Regions from separate parts of the Homo sapiens genome. Here all the other regions are linked to region 3. The links are contacts of gene promoters, found by promoter capture Hi-C in blood cells and fetal thymus (Javierre and others, 2016). All regions are on one chromosome and are shown on one strand. Each heading gives the region's core, a stretch centred on a gene start or on the middle of the fragment in contact. The rest is flanking DNA. Distances are from core to core; before and after follow the strand shown. Region 1 holds the start of LOC105375187 (a long non-coding RNA gene). Region 2 has its middle 6.2 kb from the start of MALSU1. Region 3 holds the start of SPMIP4 (sperm microtubule inner protein 4).

What was found. The method cuts DNA at HindIII sites, captures the fragments that hold promoters and counts their contacts. A CHiCAGO score of 5 or more calls a contact.
Region 1: a fragment that was not itself captured here is called in contact with the fragment with the promoter of SPMIP4 in region 3 in 2 of 17 cell types (monocytes and total CD8 T cells); the score reaches 7.0 in monocytes.
Region 2: a fragment that was not itself captured here is called in contact with the fragment with the promoter of SPMIP4 in region 3 in 1 of 17 cell types (neutrophils); the score reaches 6.3 in neutrophils.

The regions. Positions count from the first base shown.
Region 1 is chr7:23,594,392-23,597,428 of GRCh38, reverse strand. LOC105375187 (a long non-coding RNA gene) reads left to right here and starts at 104. Exons shown (of 2, transcript XR_927098.2): 1 at 104-312. CCDC126 (coiled-coil domain containing 126) reads right to left here and starts at 47. Exons shown (of 4, transcript NM_138771.4): 1 at 1-47. The HindIII fragment of the contact is 327 bases long and covers 1,319-1,645 here.
Region 2 is chr7:23,291,709-23,294,586 of GRCh38, reverse strand. No RefSeq gene overlaps it. Among named protein-coding and RNA genes, the nearest start is that of MALSU1, 6.2 kb to the left of the region's middle. The HindIII fragment of the contact is 4,012 bases long and covers 1-2,878 here.
Region 3 is chr7:25,178,920-25,181,994 of GRCh38, reverse strand. It overlaps SPMIP4 (sperm microtubule inner protein 4), which reads left to right and starts at 1,641. Exons shown (of 10, transcript NM_138811.4): 1 at 1,641-2,333; 2 at 2,663-2,820. The coding sequence starts at 2,687. The region is part of intron 1 of LOC124901603 (a long non-coding RNA gene); the gene reads right to left. RefSeq lists silencers at 1,406-1,795, 1,856-2,135. The HindIII fragment of the contact is 8,567 bases long and covers 1-3,075 here.

The sequences.
Region 1 (3,037 bases), core at 233-2,732, 1.6 Mb after region 3:
GAGATTTTACTCCGCTCGTCCCTCGCACTCGGCTTCCGCTCCGCCTCCCTGCCGGCCCTTCCCGCACTCGGGGGCCAGCCGCCCGCGGCGCGCGGCATTGTGGGGGATGTAGTCCCAGAATGAGGAAGCGGCGGCACGTGCTTCCAGCCGCCCTGCACCTACCCTGGGTCAGAACGACGCAGCTGCGCGGCAACCAGAGAGGGCGGCGGGGTCTTCTGTGTTGGAAGATGAGCCCGCCAGAGGCATACCCTCGGCCTTAACTCGCTGCAGGCGCTGGAAGAAGGGCTCTGGCGTCTTGTTCCCGACCCTCCGGTGAGGAACCAACCTCCTAATACTATTGACCTGAGGCTGGGAAAGCTTAGTGATGATTAAGTGTGCTACAGATGAGACTACCCATTATTGAAGCCAAAGGTCCTTAGCCAGTGGAGTGAGGCAAGAAAAATAAAAGGATTGAAGATTAAATAGGAAGAAACAAAATTATTTTTTCATAGATTATGTAATTATGTACGTGGAGGCCGGGCGCCGTTGGCTCATGCCTGTAATCCCAGCAGTTTGTGAGGCCAAGACGGGAGGATCACCTGAGGTCGGGAATTCGAGACCAGCCTGGCCAACATGGTGAAACCCCGTCTCTACTACAGATACGAACTTAGCAGGGCGAGGTGGCGGACGCCTGTAATTCCAGCCTCTCGGGGAGCTGAGGCGGGAGAATTGCTTGAACCCAGGAGGCGGAGGTTGCAGTGAGCTGATATCGCGCCACTGCACTCCAGCCTGGGCAACAAGAGCAGAACTCCGTCTCAAAAAAAAAAAAAAATTGTTTGTGGCACTTCAAAACAATCTGCAGATAAACTGTTAACAATAAAAGTTTTTAACAAGGTTAATAGATACAAAAATCATATTTTAAAAAATCAATATTTATTTATATATGCTAGTAAAAAAGATAATTTTTTTAAAGATACCATTTCCAACAGCTCCAAACAAATATCAAGTACCTAGGAATAAATCGATCAAAGAAATGCAAAACCTGCCTGAAGAAAACATTGGAAGACACTGAAGAAGACCTAAATAAAGATGTAACATGTTCATAAATTGGAAGAGTCAATACTGAAAAATGCCAAGTCTCTCCAAACCTACCTACAGAGCCAGTGCAATTCCCAACAAAATCTCAATAAATTTCTGTGTATGTGTGAGAAACTTGACAAGCTAATTCAAAATGTTATGGAAGAGCAAAGACAAGCATTCATGAGGAAGAGGAGGAAGAAAAAAAAAGAAGAGGAGAAGGAGTGGGAGGAGGAAAACTTGTGCTACCGGATAACAAGCTTTATTATAGACTAGGCACGGTGGCCCATGCCTATGATCTCAGCACTTCGGGAGGCTGAGGCAAGTGGATTGCTTGAGCCTGGAGTTCAAGACCAGCCTGGGCAACATGGCAAAACCCCATCTGTACCCCCCAAAAAAATACCAAAGTCAGCCAGTTGTGGTGGCATGCACCTATAGTCCCTGCTACTCAAGAGGCTGGGGGCAGGAGGATCACTTTGAGCCCAGGAGGTGGAGTCTGCAGTGAGCCATAATTGTGCCACTGCACTCCAGCCTGGGCGACAGCAAGCCTCTTCCTCAAAAACAAAACAAAACAAAACAAAAACAAGCTTTATTTTAAAGCTGTCAACCTAAATAATAGGACCTCTAAAAGAAAAAGACACTCACTTAAGAATAGGGCATTGCAATGGGAATATACATGCCACAGTAAACTCTGTGTGTATTCAGGGAGGTAAAGGAAGACAAAGAAAAAATGAGGAGGATTAAATAATTGCTTTGAAATTATTATGCTTGGCTACAAGGATCAATAATAAGGGTGACTCCAGTTCTAGGTTCAACAGGCAGTTGCTGGGCAGATGTCCACACAGAAGTACTTGTTGTGTAAGGTTGCAGTGGTCTTTATGTAAGGTTGTGGTTTTTGCAGAGTCTTTTGCAATAGTTTAGTTATCAGGTATACACATGTGAAAGCCTTCCCTTCTTAGCCTTCCCCAGCTCTGTCAGGGTGTTTTGTTTTTAACACAAGTGACTCCATTTTGATTCTGACAATTTTCACATTTCCCTTTTTTGATCAAGAGCTTTCTCAGAATGCATCACTGATCAGTCATTTTGTAGTTACATTCTGATGTCCCTGGAGGCCAGGTTGAACCTGTCCTGGTTGCTGGTTTCTTCCCTCATTGTGGGGAGTGATTGGTGATGAGTCAGTGTCAAAAACCATTAAGCCATATTTGGGCAATAAGGGAGGTTTGAAGAAAATGGCTCTCAGGCTAAGTCTACCTGGAGTTTATTATTGAGGTCTATAGTCTTTGGCTGTCATCTCAAAGTGCTGGCCCAGCATTATTTTGTTAAGACCTATACTTCTGCAAAAATTTAACAAGTAACAGATACAAAGTTTAAAAAAGGAAAAATATAAAGTAAAATGATAATCTCAGTTTGCTTAATAGTTTTGAGCCATGAACCTAGGCTTAACCAGCTGAATAAATGAAATGACCATGAAGGATTAAGTGAGACCTGTTGTAACGTTTCATAAACCCATCAGTTTTTTAAGTGTGCATGAGAATGGGCCATCAAATATAGCTGGTTGGAGTCCCAGAAAACTTGGCATGCCTTAATGTTTGAAAATCCCAGGCAGAGTACAGTGGCTTACATTTATAATCTTGACACTTTGGGAGGCTAAGGCAGGAGGATCTCTTGAGGCCAGGAGTTTGAGACAGCCTGAGCAACATAGTGAAACACCGTCTCTTCAAAACAAAACAAAACAAAAAAAGTAGCTGGGCATGGTGGCGTGTACCTGTAGTCCTAGCTACTTGAGCCTAGGGGTTCAAGGCTGCAATGATCTATGATTGCATCACTGAACTCCAGCCAGGGAGACAGAGTGAGACTCTGTTTCTTAAAAAAAAAAAGAAAGAAAGAAAAATTAAGAAAACCCCATTACATTACTTATCAATCTCTCAAGAGCAAAGAAAATTATCAATCTTGTCAGAATGTCATAAGTTTGGACCAATGT
Region 2 (2,878 bases), core at 199-2,698, 1.9 Mb after region 3:
CATTTTACGACAAAAGTTCATTATAACTAAAATGTTGGAATCACTGCTCACCCTGCAGCCTCAGCTTACCCTTCCCATCATCATAGGACAGCTCATTCCACCACCAGGCAGCTGTAGCTGTTGGTGAATATTCCCACCTCATGTAAACTTAATCCTTTTTCCTGGATTTCCACTGCCTTTGTACTGGTTCTGCCCTCCAGAGACCTTGCAGAAGGAAGGGCCAGGATTAAAATGACCTCTCTTATAATGTTATAAATACTATGGATTTGTATATTTATATTTTTAAAATTATTTTGTCCCCCACTTTGTAAATATCCTCATTGGAAGGAAGACAAAATCCTTTTCAAGAGAAGACAAACAGGGACTTTGTATTTTATAAACCTAGGAGTAAGGTACTAGCTCTCTGCACCCCAAACTCCCCTGGGGCTGTGGGGTTCGTATTGTCTGTCCCACTCAGATGTTCTGTGTGGGTTTGCCAGGCATGTCTTCCGGGCTTGTAAGGGCAGGGAGAGCAGCCTGGGGTGGGCACCGAGGCCTGCGATGAGATGAGCTGTTGGCTTCTCAGGGCACCGAGCCTGTGGTTTGCAAGCGTCCCAGAGCACTGCTTGCAGCCTCTCCCATAGGAGGTTCCCATGTGAGGAGGCCGCTCCTCCACCATTTGCCTAGTCTATTTGTGGAACCAAAGTGCAGGCTGTGACTCCCATCCCTTGCAGCATTGTTTCCTCAGCTTTCACAGCCGTTGTTTGTTCTGAAGCTGTGCCTCTGAACACTCACATTGGCCCCTTGGATTACTGGGCCCTGTCACAGAGCCAGACTGTTTTTCCCACAGCCTCAGAAATTGGTATTGGGGTCCCCTCTTGTCACCCCGATGTTGGTAGGTGGGCTTTGCAGGTTGTGGGTCACTCTGCGTAGACTTGTGATTCACCCTCCCAAGGAGCCTCACCAAGGTTCAAGTGAACATTCTGTGCCAGGCGCTGGACTAAGGCCAGAGAGAGGAAAGATGAATAAAACATTGTCTCAGCTGGGCGTGGTGGCTCACGCCTATAATCCCAGCACCTTCAGAGGCCGAGGTGGGTGGATCACTTGAGGTCAGGAGTTCGAGACCAGCCTGGCCAATACTAAAAATACAAAAAATTAGCCAGGCATGGTGGCAGGTGCCTGTGATCCCAGCTACTCAAGAGGTTGAGGCAGGAGAAACACTTGAACCCAGGAGGCGGAGGTTGCAGTGAGGTGAGATCACACCATTGCATTCCAGCCTGGGCAACAAGAGCAAAACTCCGTCTCAAAATAAACAAATAAATAAATAAATAAAAAACAAAACATAGTATCTGTACCCAGGGAGCTCCCAGAGAGTAGGAGAGATGATGATTAAATGTCATCAATACCGTGTAATTGTGTTTGAAAGAGGAGAGCCCACCTGCTGTGGTACACAGCAGCAATTCTCCCCCAGAGCTGGAAAAGTCTCTGCAGGGAGGTGCTATTTGAACAGACCTGGGTCTTGAGGCAGAGGTAAGGAGAGTGGACTACAGGGCCCCAAATTAGCCAACTTCAGGGGGCCCCTTTCACAATGGACTTGGGGGGAATGGAAACCCCTAAAGGGATGCAACTTGGAGGTGCTGTGAGGTGATGTTACAGGCCAGGAGAATACCACAGTGACGGTATCAACCCCTGGAGAAGCCCATGGGTTTTTACTGCCATATCTACCACAGCCTGTGAAGTGTTTTGTCCCCAGAGCTGAACTGTGATATTAAGTATTGATTCACAGGTGCGACACGGCCTCACTCCCCACTATGTCATAAGACCAGACCTTGGGTTGTTTTCTTTCTGCCAAAACCTGATTTCTAAAGGGCCTCCGATTTCTTTTGATCAGCTCTGCTGACAATCCAGTAAAACTTCTGCTTTTCATTTTCTTATCCCAGTTTTATGAGGTTCCTCCATTTTGGAATTATTGTGAGATTTGAGGCATTGTGATTAACGGGTGAGGGGAACCTCTGGCTGCTGAACTCTAGAGGGCTGGGCAAAAGAAACAAAGCCTGCCTCCTCTGCCAGTGCGTTTTGGGGAGCTTGTGGTTTGGGGGCAAGTCCCTTGAAGGAACACTTCCACCACAGTAGGGAGCCCCAAGTTCTAGGAAGGCAGGTCAGAGTGATTAATTCCACCTAGGGGGGTGAGGGAACACCTCACAGAGCAGGTCAAGCTGGAACTTTGGCCTTGGACTTTACTACTCCAAACTTTTTGGTCACACTTCAGGAAAGCATCTGACAATAGACATTCATTCCCAAACAGTTGTGGCCAATCAATTCTCCTATCTGCCTGGTGGTTTCACAAATCCAAACTGCAAAGAAATTCTGAGAAGTGTAGCTAATGAGTTCAGGAACACTACAGGCTGATCCATATTCAGCCTTATTAAAATATCAAGAGGCTGCCTTAGCTTCCTGGGAAAAGGTCCAAGCCTGAGTCCTAGTGAGGTGTGAGTGGCTTCCAAGGACACGCCTTTCTTTCCCTTTCTTTCCTTTTTCTTTCTTTCCTGTTCCTTTTTTTCTTTCCTTTTCCTTTTTTTCTTTCCTTTTCCTTTCTTTCCTTTCAAGAAAGAGTCCTGCTCTGTCGCCCAGGCTGGAATGCCATGGCATGATCTCGGCTCACTGCAACCTCCGCCTCCCAGGTTCAAGTGATTCTCCTGCCTCCGCCTCCCGAGAGGGTGGGATTGCAGGCACCTGCCACCATGCCTGGCTAATTTTTGTATTTTTAGTAGAAACGGGGTTTCACCATCTTGGCCAGGCTGGTCTCAAAATCCTGACCGCATGATCCACCCACCTCGGCCTCCCAAAGTGCTGGAATTACAGGTGTGAGCCACTGCGCCCAGCCAGGACACTCCATTTC
Region 3 (3,075 bases), core at 392-2,891:
AAAGTAGGCAGAGAATAGCAAAGGCACCATCATACTGTTACCAAGCAAAGGAGGCTCGCTGCCCGAGGCACTAGAAGTCAATACTATAACACTGGGTTTTTGATAAAATAAAAACTTTTATTGCATGTCAACCAACAAAGAAATAGGAAGTCCAGCTCAAATCTGTCTCCCTGTGCTGGCTTTAGGACAATTATTTTATTAGAAATGGTTTTGAGTGTGGATTCTGGGATTAGCAGGTGCTTGGTGGAAGGAAAGAGGAAGTCTGGAAAGTCCTTGCGCATGTGCTCTTATTTCTTCATGCTACCTAAGGGTTCCACGTGCAAATTCAGTGAGGAGTTAGTATGAAACATGGCAGTAGAAATTCAGCTGTAAGGTCAGCAAGCTGGATCTGTGCAGACTCTAGTTGGCCTTATATGTTCCAGTGGATTTCAGCCAGTTTTATTAACCTACAAGCCCAGGCATTTCAGCATTTCAGCAATTTGTTTCTTTTATCTGCCATCCTGTAAACTCAAGAATTTCTATGACTGTTTTCTTTAACTCTTTGGCACACAGTTTCAACGCCCTTCTTCTCAGAGGTGGTCATTCTCACCCTCACCTTCTGGTTCCTGCAGGCTCATTTCTAGCCTCCCACACTGTATTAGTCTTTTCTCACAATGCTGTAAAGAACTGCCCAAGACTGGGTAATTTATAAACGAAGGAGGTTTAGTTGACTCACAATCTCACATGGCTGCGGAGGCCTCAGGAAACTTACAATCATGGCAGAAGGCCACGGAGAAGCAGTTACCTTCTCCACAAGGGGGCAGGAAGGAAAAGTGCTGGGAGAAGGGAGAAGAGCCTCTTATAAAACCATCAGATCTCGTGAGAATTCACTCGCTATTACGAGAACAGCATGGGGGAAACTGCCCCCATGATCCAATTACTTCCACCTGGTCTCTCCTTTGACAAGCGGGGATTATGGGTATTACAATTCAAGATGAGATTTGAGTGGGGACACAAAGCCTAACCATATCACACATATACACACAACCTAACCTCCTCACATCCCATTCCTTGATGGGGTGGCAGGTGGCGAGGGGGGGGTGACATCCCTTATTGTCAGCCATCACAGGAACTCATGACCCTGTAGGTGCAGATTCATGGCTCACATTTGTATCTTTTGGGGAAAACTGAGGTAATCAAGGTGGGGCTAGGCCCTGGGGACGAGGCAAGTAAAGGACTTTGCCATGTCCGCACCCACCAGGGAAGGAGCAGAGACTCTGTTAGGGCGCCATGCCAGGGGCTGCAGTTTCAGAATCCTGCAGACTCCACCCTCTATCTGGCCACACTGTCCCCAATTTTTGCGAGGTGACCTGGGGAGGGAGGACAGGTCGGATGCTCCGACCTCACCAGGGACTCCACTGGACCGGAGCTCTTCCTCCTCCGCCCAGTCCACATGAGAGAGCTCCCTGGCCGGCCCTGAGACAGCTCCAGACCTGGTAGCCCTGGAAAAAGAAACTGGTATCGCCATCGCCGCCGCCGCTAGAGGGCGCCTGGGGGCGGGGCGCGGGTGGGGCAAGGCGGGGTCCGACTGGAGGCAGGGCGGTGAGCCGAGAGGGGCGGGGCAAGGGACCGGGAGGCGGGGCCAGGGGTCGCAAGGCGGAAGAGCCCCTCTCGCCTCCGACCCGGCGCCTCGCACTCCGTTCACTCTCGGTTCCTCTTCGCATTCTTGCCAGTCCCGTAGCGCTGGGCTGGTTTCCTCCGAGGTCTCTAAGAGCCTCCTACTGCGCCCCGCTCGCCGCCCGGAAGCCCCCAGCCCCTCAAGGACGCATCACCTAATGCCGCGGTCACGGCCACCGTCACAAGCGCCCCCAGCCCCACCCCACCCCGGCCTGCCCGCCGTCCTTCTCCCGCCCCCGCCCCTGCCTGCCAGCTCCACCGGGCCGTAGGTGCGGACGACCTCAAAATTCCTCGGCCCGCGAAGGCCGCCAGCTGCGGGGAGGGGAGGGGAGGCGCGGTCCCGCAGCGCCCCCAGGCTCATGTCCCAGGTATGTCCAGACCCCCGAGGCACCGCTTGCAGGGCAGTGACAGCCCGTGAGGCTCGGCCTCGACCCCTGGCACCCTTGGTCCCAGCTACGCCGGCTCCTGGCCTTCCCCCAAGTCCGAGAGAGAGGTGGGATTCTCCCCGACGCAGTTGGAAACCGGGAATCCCCTTTAGGGTCCCGTTCGTGCTGCACTACTGACTCCACCATCTGCAAAGGGATTCTTGTCCAGAATCCCCGAAGGCTTTAGGACAGCGCTTATTTTGTTGAATGAAGAGTCTCTAATTTTCGGAAAGACCACAGGCTAAAAGTCAAGTGAGTTTTCTTGAATAGTTATAGTTAAATTTAAGGCAGGAATTGAATGTCAGTTGATGGCCACAAAGTAGCGGACTGGTACGAACCTACTGGATGATCATTCTGGTGACTACTTGGAGGCACCGTCCACTTTGTGGATTTGTTTCAGTTGAAATTTATTTCCATAGAACTTATTTAGGTCTCTATTTATTACTGATTTGACGGCTTTCAGTGCAGAGGGAAGCCTGTGACGTCTGTGCAGCGTCAGGTTGAACAATTTAGCAGTGTAAAATGTGTTTTCTGCCTGCCTTGACTCGACAAGCCAAATGTGCCCTCCTTTTCTTTTCCAGGTTGTGCCTTTTTAGCCAAGAAGCATGGAAGTCATTCACGGCAGGCCCTACTGTTGCAGGGAGCTTGAAGGAGCTGACATACTGTCCAACACCTTTTACTCTAATGAATTGCACAACCCCCTCCAGACGGTTACTCGCCCAACTGCCTCAGAGGACAGGTAAAACAAAAACTAGAAAAAGCAAACAAGAAAAAGCAGTTTTAATGTATTCGTGTATTTTATTATGTGAGGAAAAACATTTATTGTTCTGGGGCTCTTCTGTTTCTTGTTTGTTTGTTTGTTTGTTTGTTTTTGAGACGGTGTCTCGCTCTGTCGCCCAGGCTGGAGTGTAGTGGTGCGATCTCGGCTCACTGGGACCTCTGCCTCCCAGGTTCAGGTGATTCTCCTGCCTCACCCTCCAGAGTAGCTGGGATT